Linked DNA regions of Homo sapiens: region 2 is linked to region 1. The links are contacts of gene promoters, found by promoter capture Hi-C in blood cells and fetal thymus (Javierre and others, 2016). All regions are on one chromosome and are shown on one strand. Each heading gives the region's core, a stretch centred on a gene start or on the middle of the fragment in contact. The rest is flanking DNA. Distances are from core to core; before and after follow the strand shown. Region 1 holds the start of IFT74 (intraflagellar transport 74). Region 2 overlaps RFX3 (regulatory factor X3).

Region 1 (5,245 bases), core at 2,662-5,161:
TCTTGACCTCAGGTGATCCGCCTGCCTAGGCCTCCCAAAGTGCTGGGATTACAGGCGTGAGCCACTGTGCCTTGCCGAAAGTTTATTTTTAAAAAGTAATAATAATGCATTCCTTGGTTTAAAATTCAAAAGACGTAAAGGATGCACATTTTCAAACCCTAACCACCCAGTTTTCCTCTCTGGAGGCTTATCAGTTTCTTGTGTTCTTCCCAAAGATTGTTTATACAGATGCAAGAAAATGTTAACATTGAATACTTACTCACCTTACTTTATATATCTTGGAAAACTCTCCATATTGTATGGGAAGAAGAAAGCTTTTCCTCTACCCTGTCATGTTCACTATTCAAGGGCCTATGAGTTAAACTGAAAAAAGACAGACTAACAGGAGAAAAATATCAATTTCTTATGCATAAAACAGCCAACAAAAGCAGCAGCTGACTAGTCAAATGATTAAAGTTAAAGGCTTATATAACTAACTTAGTAGGGAAAATGGTGGGGGAGAAACAGCTTTTACAGGGAAAAAAATAGAAACATTGACTTTTAGGAGAACAAATAAGAAAGTTTGTGTTCACGTTCATCTATACAGTTAGGAGTGGTGTTCTTCCGGGCCATAAGTTAGGGTATTTATGGTAGCATCATTCCCCAGAAATTTTGCTTTCAGTGAGATAAGGAACTCTCTGAGAAGGTTTTTTTCCCCCTTCATCAAATGCCTTCAGGTTAAAATAATATTTTTATACTAGCTCTGGGGTTCCTAGTCAGCCTCTGCAATATCAGTATACAAGGAGCATTCTTTTTTATAGATGGCCAAATTTTATGTGATTTTATGACTATAGCATTATTAATTCAGTGTTGTTTGATTTTTTTCCTAATCTTTCTCTGTAACAAACACTGCTCAAATAAATAACCTTGGACATCAGCATATGTCATTTATATGTATAAATTCAGTGTGAATATATGCTCACTTCCTAGAAGTGGAGTTACTGGGTCAAAGGACATGTGCATTTGGATTTCTATAGCCATCTTCTTTCAATAGACACTCCTACCAGTGTATCCAAAAATCTTATTTCAGTTGATGTACATATTCACTAGTAAGTTCACTAACTTTTCTCTATTTTACAGTAGAATACCTTAATGATGTCACTCCTCAAAGTGTCTTTTCTTTTTTAAGATTCATTTTTGTTTTCATTTTTTGTAGGGGGGGGGTCTCACTATGTTGCCCAGGCCAGTCTTGAACTCCTGGCCTTAGTGACCCTCCTGCCTTGGCCTCCCAAAATGTTGGGATTAGAGGCATGAGCCACCACACCTGGCCAAAAAATTTATTTTCTTAAAAAACCTACAAACATCCTACAAAGACATTTTTGAGTTATTTTGTTAACATTTTTCTTCTGTGCACCCTGGGCTACATAAGCGTAACTGGCCATATTCAGTACCAAGTGGTATCCTCTTCATTGGGCCTTATTGCCCTTGACTCTACTGAGTACCCACTTGCTCCCTTCCCTACTCCCTCATTCTCCCTTTAAAACATCCAATCACTGCTGTACAAATCAAGGTTGAATTCCTTTCACATTGGACTATTTTCCCTATTGCAGTAGTAAATTATGGATAAAAATGTGTCCCTACTGTCAGGGTTTGTTATCTTTGACAACAAAAATAAACATATAACTGCAAGTTATAATGAGTGATATGTAGTGTTAAAATAATTAAATTGGAGGCCATTAGACTGAAGTCGCTCTAATGCACTGAGTTCCTACATGAGGAAACTGAAACTTAAAACGGAATCACAAGTGGCCAACTAGTCATCAGTTATATCGTCTTGAACTTCCCACAAGAACAGTCCAAATAAGGCAACTGCTCAAACTTTAACCAGTCAAATAATTTCTTTGCTGTGCTCTGCATTTACTCTCTGAAAGCTTTCAACTACCTCTGGGGGAGCCCCAAACCACTTATGATTTGGAGCTGCCTAATTCATGAATTGCTGTCTGTTCAAATAAGCTCTTTAAAATTTTAATGTGCCAAAGTTTACCTTTTAACAGATAGGAATAGTACAGGGTGCACTGAGGACATATAATGAGGTGGGGGGCCAGAAGGAGTTGGAGCACTAATCTAGTATGGACTGGCAGAGAAGACCTCTCTAATAAAAGACATTTGGGTTAAGACCTGAATGATGAACAGGACTTTGGACAGTGAAAAGCAGAGGGACAAAGATTCCAGGAAGAGAGAATTGCAGTGAAAAGGACTAGAGACAGAAAGGAACTTGAAACACAAGTAGTCTTACAATAAACTTAAAATTTGACATAACCTAATTACTAACCAAATTACAACTTGATATAACCTAATTCCAATTTGATATAACCTTAAAAGCAACAGAACCTAATACATAATGATCCAAAGTCAAATAAGATATGGTGCCTACTCTAAGGAAGCTCAGAGGCAAATAAGTGAGATGTATTCCTATTCTCTATTCCTTTTTCATCATGAAAAAGAAATGGGGACAGGGATCAATACTTACTACCTAAATGAGCTTAAGCAAATTATTTAATCTCTTTAAAACTTGGATAATAGTATCTGTCCTGCCAATTTCAACTGTTAATATCTGTCAGGGTCCTTAAGTGCAAGGAACAGAAATCATCTATAAATGATATAAAAGCTGAAAATGAATTTATTAAAGGACATTAAGCAGCTCACAGACTCTCCCAGAAGCTGAAGAAACAAGCTAGAGGTTCTCCTCCCAATAAAGCCTCTGAGTACCTAACACTGCAGCTTGCAACAACACACTGATGCTGGACACTGGTTGCTGGTGATAGAACATTGCAGTCTCGGAAACGATGTAGTTACTGCGGCTGTCACCCTTACTTCAACAGACTCTCTGAAGTCCTGCTTCTGGTTGTCATTCAAGTTTGAGTTGAGTCCACCAAATTAGATTGGAGAGTCTAGCAAGCAATAATACTCATGTCCCAGTAATAAGGAAGACTAGGAAAGCCAGTATCTGTCACTTTCAGTTCCTGTAAGGGTGTTGGGGGGCAGGGTAAGGGAGAAACTCTGCCAAAAGGATGACAAATGGCCACTGCAAATAGGGTGAGCTCAAATGAGATAATTACATGAAAATGTTTCACAAACTAAGGGAGAATTCAGCCACATAACATTATCTCATTTTGTGTTGTATTGATTTTTAACTCCTCGAAGGCAGGCAAGTTGGAAATAATGTGTAAAATAATGTTAAAATCCCAATACATATGCAATCACATTTAAGCTGTTATCAATGAAGATTGGAAGGAAACATACAGTAAAAGTTATTTTATTAGAGAAGTGGGATTTAAGGTGAAGTAGTTCTTAAATTAAAAAAAAAAAAAAAAAGGACACTTTCCATTGAATTCACAGTCTTCCCCACAAACTTGGATCCAAATTCTAATGAAAGGAAGCTTAAAGACGCAAAGCTTCTGGTGAAAGCAGGAACGGAACAGTTGGTGCCAGAATCGCATCCATACTTCATGATGCGTTGTGTACGCTATGCCGTCCTAATAGGAAGGAAAACTACCACAAATTAGGAGTTTAGAAAATTGCACAATGCTGCCTACCACTTAACTTCAAATGTAACCTGTTAACAACGTTAGCCGACGTGAGGTTACCTAGGGACATAGCAAAACTCGCTAGAGTTACTTCAAGTAAGGCACACGGAGGTTGCTCTGATTATCAAGAAAACCAAACGTTCACATAAAATGTTTGTCTTCCAGCCGCCCCGCTGTTTTCCACTTTTTCCAAAAAGCACTGAAGCGTGGTGAAGAAACAAACATATCCTCAATTCTCGCGAGAGCTCCGTGTGTAACCAAGGGCTGAGGCGGAGGATTGGTCACTCAGGATGAGGAGCCTCCGCTATCCCGCCCCCGTTGCCGGGATACGCCGCGGCGCACGGCAGTTAGTGGGTAGGCCTGAGAGCCGAGGAAAACTGAGCGTGGGCCTCAGAAAGAAGTTAAGGCACCCGCGAGCCGGGCAACTGCCCTCCTTCCGCGCCGGCGGAGGTGAGAATCCCCGGGTCCCATCTCTTCCTCCCTCCCTCCCACGTCTGTTCTCTTGCCTTGGAGATGCTGATCCGCTCCAAACAAAACAAATTCAAACTCGGTCTTAGCTAACTGTTACCGTCGGGCCTGTAGCCAGGCCAGGCATGTACCAATTCTAGTCGAGCGAAGGTTGCGAACAGACCTCCTCCAACAGCCCGACCCCTCCCCGACCCCCCGCAGGAGACCCGCCAAGCACAGAGCAGAGGGAAGGACCGCGATGGGCTGAAGGATTTTAGTCAAAGCAATACATTTCTGCCTCTTACAGTGGAAGGGACTTATTTCTGTCTGTTGATCACAGTGCGGGCAGTTAGCAACTTTCCACTTATTCACCTGTGTGAGAATGGTTGGCTTAGGGAGGATAACGATAGTAATAATAATTAGAAGCAGATGTTTTAAATGTAATACTTATCGTCTTCACAACAGCCCTGCAAGGTAGATGTCACCCTTCTGTTTTACAGAAGATGAAATCCTGAGGGGTTAATTAAGGTGGCAAGATTATGCAGCCGCTAACTTTGTCAGCACTAGTTTGTATCGCTAATCATTCTGGATCCAAAGGCCAGGCTGCCTCTCTGTGTGAATAATTGGAAATTGTGTGACTCTTTGATTGAATAACCCCGAAGTTAGTGGTATATTTGTTGCTAATGCCCGCCTCTTAATCCCACTGGTAATAATATAATGGTAAGCTTTTTTTCACCACAGTAAAACGGTGGCAAAGAAAATTGGGTGAAATTTTTTATGTTGTACATTTTCTCAAAGTTAGCAGGAAACCTAGAGTAATATCTTTTCCACTGGAAAGAGATGTTTATTGTACTCGTTTTCTTCTGGAAAAACCATTTTGATCATACACCGTCTTCCTTTTCAAAGAGTCATTTCATGAAATTCCTTTTTCCATTTGAAATTCTTTTGCTTTGTACATAGAGTTCAAAATGGCAAGGAATTAGAATCAGGGAGCTAGTGGGGTCAGGAAGATTGATGTGAACATATTCAAATGAGATATCTGAATGGAAATTTCAGATAAACAATTGAAAACTCAAAATTGGTGCCCAGTTGAAAGGGCAGAACTGTAGACATTGATTAGTGAGCCGTACACATAGTTGGAGTTATAAAGATGCATGACTGTAGAAAGGATAGAAGCAGTCCAAGGACTGATTACGAGTAATGCTAAGAAAAGTCAGAAAAGTAGTACTGGA
Region 2 (4,875 bases), core at 1,825-4,324, about 23 Mb before region 1:
TGAGACAGGGTCTTGCTCTGTCACCCAGGCTAAAGTGCAGTGGCATGATCATAGCCCACTGTAACCTGAAACTCCTGGGCTAAAAAATTCTCTCACCTCAGTCTCCTGAGTAGCTTGAACTACAGGCACGCACCGGCAAGGCTGGCTAATTTTCTTTTACTTTTTTTTACAGAAATGAAATCTTGCTATGTTGCCCAGGCTGCTCTTGAACTCATAGCCTCAGGTGATCCTTCTGCCTCAGTCCCAAAGTGTTGGGATTATAAATGTGAACCAATACAACCAGCCAGAATTATCTAGATAATGTCAATACTATTTTATTATGAATTAGCCTGATAACCACTATTGCCATTTATTTTTCCAGTGGTTTTTTTAAAGATTATACAATAAAAAGCATATCACTATGCCATGTAAAAGTGTTATAAGAATGGACAATTATTGATATGTGCTAATCATATGAAATTTAAGAAGTATAAAGCCACATATCGCCAAATAGTATGATTCTCAGGGTAACCTAAGTTTTGAAATAAAGATTAAAATATCTACATAAGATAATCAACATATATGCCTATAGGACTAATGCCAGACAGTGCCAAAGATATCAATCTTTATATTGTTATATGTTGCGGTAATATGTATTAGTACACGAAGTTAGGTTCTGATGTAAAACTGCCAATTAAGATAGTATGTTAAACTCCATAAAAATAAGCCTATTATATGCTTCAATGCATATATAATTAAAAATTTTTTTCTTTAAATAAAAGTTCTAGTGAGTTCACATTCTTAGTGATAATAATCTCATGTTGCAAACAGCACAGCACCCTCTGGTGCATCTGTTATAAGAAATATAAAATTCCCACAGAAAAGGACAGAATTGTAGAGTAAAAGTGAACCTTAGAAATCAATAGGTTGATAGTTTTTTTATTTACTGCAGTACATATTTTTGAACATTAATACTTAAAAATATTATCATTTTAAAAGATCACTATAAACTTTATAGCAGTAAATGAAGTCAGGAAATGTCTTAGTTTGAAAATACTTAACCAACAAAAACAACACCTATTTCCAACATATAAAAAATGCTGTCAAAAAATTATTTCAGTAAAGGATGACAAAAGTTAACTTGTCATGTTAACCAAATTTCACTTTATTCAAATTGGCCTTGGGGTTTGACTTGGGTGTGTAAAATGTTCCTGTGTACTTTTTCTGGATTCAAAGGGAATTTACCATTATTTATAAGAATTGATAAGTGTTTTGTGAAAGAATCTGCAGGTTCTACCACTTAAAAATAGAATATTCAGAAATAAAAGTTATGTTAAATTACGAATCTTGAGTAGTTCAAAACTTTTACTTTAAAAAAAAAAAACTTTTCCTAGAAAACTCTAAAAGTAGATTTTACTAACAACAAAAGCAAAGGATGCCACCTGCTTTAGACAGCCCTTTTGTCAACCACTGGAAGTCCCAACACAATGCAGTAAAAAATGAAAGTGACACCTGTTTAAAGCAGCCATCTGTCCCTAACAAGCCAGATTTAGTCAAATCCACTTAATCTTGGATTTCCAAAATATGGGAACACTATGTATCTGTGAATAGAGAGGAATTTAAAACATACTTTGTCATGGCCACTGGGAATATATACCAAAGAGTTAAAGGCAAATTACTCAGTTATGAAAACTGTTTTTAAGGTAACTGAGCTCAAATAGAGGATTTTTAGCCAAAGGTTCAGCATTAAAACAAAATAACCAGGAGCCTCTCAAAAATGTTAAAGTTTACTTCTTCCCTATTCTCATTTCTTGTAACACATTCTCACTATGGATACTAAGAACAAAGTAATATTCCTATTACTGTTCTGGAAAAGTGTGTGTGCGTGTGTGTGTGTGTGTGTGTGTGTGTGTGTGTAACTTTTGCCACACATCTGCTGCTATGCCCACCCATTTAAACACAAACACACACACACACACAGACTTTAAAATCTGAAAACCAAAAATCATTATATTCTGCCTGCTAATTTCTTCAGCTGGAGAATACCAACACAATATCAACTTTCTCAAGAAATGAAAAATGTTACCAAAAAGTAACATACATTATCATTTAAACGACGCATAAAATCCAACTTGCCTTTAAGATTCATTCATTTTTTAATTGCTATTGTTAATGGTAAAAAAATTAACCATAATAAATTGTTTAGGGTAAAATAAACTGTTCCAGGTTAAAGCACAGTAAGCTTATAAACTATAACCTTTTATTTGAGTACCAAAGCAGAGTACAAGACTATTTGAGTACTGGAGGAATAATACAAAAAAAACTAACCATCACTACAACCTTTAATGAAAACATTGTGAAACGATGCAAAACTTCTAGAAATTCATTAGTTTGCCATATATGTGTATATGTATGATGCCTACACCATTTAATACAATTCATAGGCAAAACACACCAAAACGACTGAGTTAGGCATTATGACATACATTGAATCACAGACATTTGACTATTCAAAACAAGTTACAAGTGACTTCTATTTAATAGTTTTAGTTTCAAAGCATGATCACTTTTACAAATTTCTATTAGTATAAAAACTGAAAACACAAGAGAGTATCAATACATAACATAGTCCCTTCTAGGAAAAATATTAAGAAAGAATAAAGTAAATGCTAAGTATCTATCCTTGTGTTTAATTTTTAAATTTACCATTTCTCAGTGTTTCTGATTATTTAATCAATTCCACAGCAGCTCTAATAGCAATTTTATCCCACATATATGCTTCAAAAAATGGAAAAGTAATGAAATTCAATTTAAGTTCTGCTCTCAAATCAACTTGTGAATGAAAATCTAAATCACAGAAAACCTGAGCTATACATGAGTGAAATGCCTCAAAAAAAGTTCTCAGACACTGTAAATAAAATATTAAACCATAACATTATAGTATATAATTTACTTAACTGAAAACCTATTATGTAAATGGCATAAGGTCTGAAACTGTCCCAAGACAGCAAAACTCCTATTAACTTCAGAGAGAGTTTATAGGACCCAGGAGCTTCACCATCCAAAAGTGTTCAGGCATTTGACACTCATCTGAACAGAAAAAAAAATACAAGTTAGTATTAGAGATTTGCATGGAACCCAGTTTGGGGAGAGGAGGAATAATTATAAACAAATCTGAGTGCTCTGAGAAAGACTTCTTTCAGAACAAAATATCGTCTTCATTTAAAATAGCAATCACAAGGAAATGAATTGAAAAAGTTTTTTTAAAATCCCAACTCTTATTTTACAAAATATTAGCCTTAATAGCATTATAATTACCCACCCTGCTCGTTGACAATCTCAAGAATAATTAGTACTGTCACATTATTCACAAGCTGCTGTGTCAGTTAAATCAATATATGTTTGCTGTTAGAAAGAAGACTATTTGAATAAGCATTTTAAAACTGTAAATTTAAAACTTCAATATGTGCAACTACAATAGTACATTATATTTGTTTTAGCACACATTCATTATCAAAACTCTACTGATAAATCTATTAACTAAAAGTTAAGCTGAAAAAAATGAACAAATTTAGGGGATCTGTAAAACTGGGTTAACGTTAACCAAGAACCTACTATATAAGGACTAATAAGTATTCAAATCTACAGAGAAAAATAATTTTTAAAAGAAATACTTAAAAAGGAAAAAGTTCTCTCTCCTGAGCAGGTTCAAGTCACTGTCCAAAGAAAATCAAAAAGTAAATAAAAAGAATATGTTAAGTACACACATGCCTAGATCTTAACCAGAAAGAAAGTGAAATATACACACGTTTCAAGTTGAGAACCTTCATACATTCTTTATGAACTTGACTTGAATTTCAACTCTCAAAGGAAAATGAGGAGATTAAAAAAAAAAAAACTCTTAAAGTACCATAACTGTCACAAATAACACTGTGAACTGAGTTCTCACAAAGCTTCCTTGTGTCCCTTCCCTGTTCATCACAAAGTCTCATAATCACAATGAAAATTGTTAACACTCTACTGCGGGGAAGGAGGATCATCAAAGTGAAACGGAACCTCACTACTCCCCCTCCCACCTCCACATGAAGGATAAAGCACTGTCAATAACTACTAACCCAAGTATCACAGATGCCCTGCATCCGGTTTAAATCACAAGCACACACACACACACACACACACACACACACACACACACACACACACACACCAAAGAAGAGAGAGGAGACAGACTTTAAAAAAGAAAAACATCTTTCCCAGTACAGCAAAGAGGGCCCAACGAACAGGCCCCAGGTTTCAATATGTGTGCAAGGGGTGTGTGGGGGGGGGGAGAAAGAGGGGGAGGGAAGAGTGCTGAATGGATGTTAAGACTGTTTGCCGCACAAAGAAAATACAGTTTTAAAAAGAAAAAAGAAAACCATGAAGCTGATGATGGTGAAAGAAGAGCAGCCCATTCAGCACCAGGCAAAGAGGGGCAAAAATGAAGGGAATGGGCGGTGGGAAAAGTTCACCAACGTATGAGGATTAAAAATAACAAAACCCATAACAAGGCCCCACAAGTGAACAACAACAACAACAAAACACCACCTCTTGGGTCCCCCCCTTGCACACTGTTGTCTATTTCGGCTTTGAAAGAAGCAGGAAACAGCAGCGTTGGAAAAGAAGAAAATTAAAGAAAGAACAAATTCTTATCTCTTCACCTGACCCTCCTCCTCAGACCAGACCTAAGGGAAAGATCCAGCATCCGCATCGGAAAACTGTGGCTCCCTCTCCCGCTCGGCTCGCAGCCCCCCAAGCTCCCGCTCCATCCCTGAAGTGCGGCCGGCGCAGGGCCGGGGCCGGCGGGCGGCGCGGCGCCCACACCCCCGACCCAGCCGCGGCGCGCAGGGTCCATTGTAA

What was found. Contacts are between HindIII fragments. The CHiCAGO score rates a contact against its expected background, and 5 or more counts as called.
Region 2: a fragment that was not itself captured here is called in contact with the fragment with the promoter of IFT74 in region 1 in 1 of 17 cell types (total CD8 T cells); the score reaches 5.6 in total CD8 T cells.

The regions. Positions count from the first base shown.
Region 1 is chr9:26,952,501-26,957,745 of GRCh38, forward strand. It overlaps IFT74 (intraflagellar transport 74), which reads left to right and starts at 3,912. Exons shown (of 20, transcript NM_025103.4): 1 at 3,912-4,016. IFT74-AS1 (IFT74 antisense RNA 1) reads right to left here and starts at 3,807. Exons shown (of 2, transcript NR_121605.1): 1 at 3,627-3,807; 2 at 3,280-3,515. RefSeq lists enhancers at 3,124-3,859, 3,860-4,594 and a silencer at 5,191-5,245. The HindIII fragment of the contact is 1,304 bases long and covers 3,433-4,736 here.
Region 2 is chr9:3,520,693-3,525,567 of GRCh38, forward strand. The region is part of intron 1 of RFX3 (regulatory factor X3); the gene reads right to left. Among named protein-coding and RNA genes, the nearest start is that of RFX3, 2.9 kb to the right of the region's middle. RefSeq lists an enhancer at 4,450-4,875 and a silencer at 4,754-4,843. The HindIII fragment of the contact is 1,711 bases long and covers 2,220-3,930 here.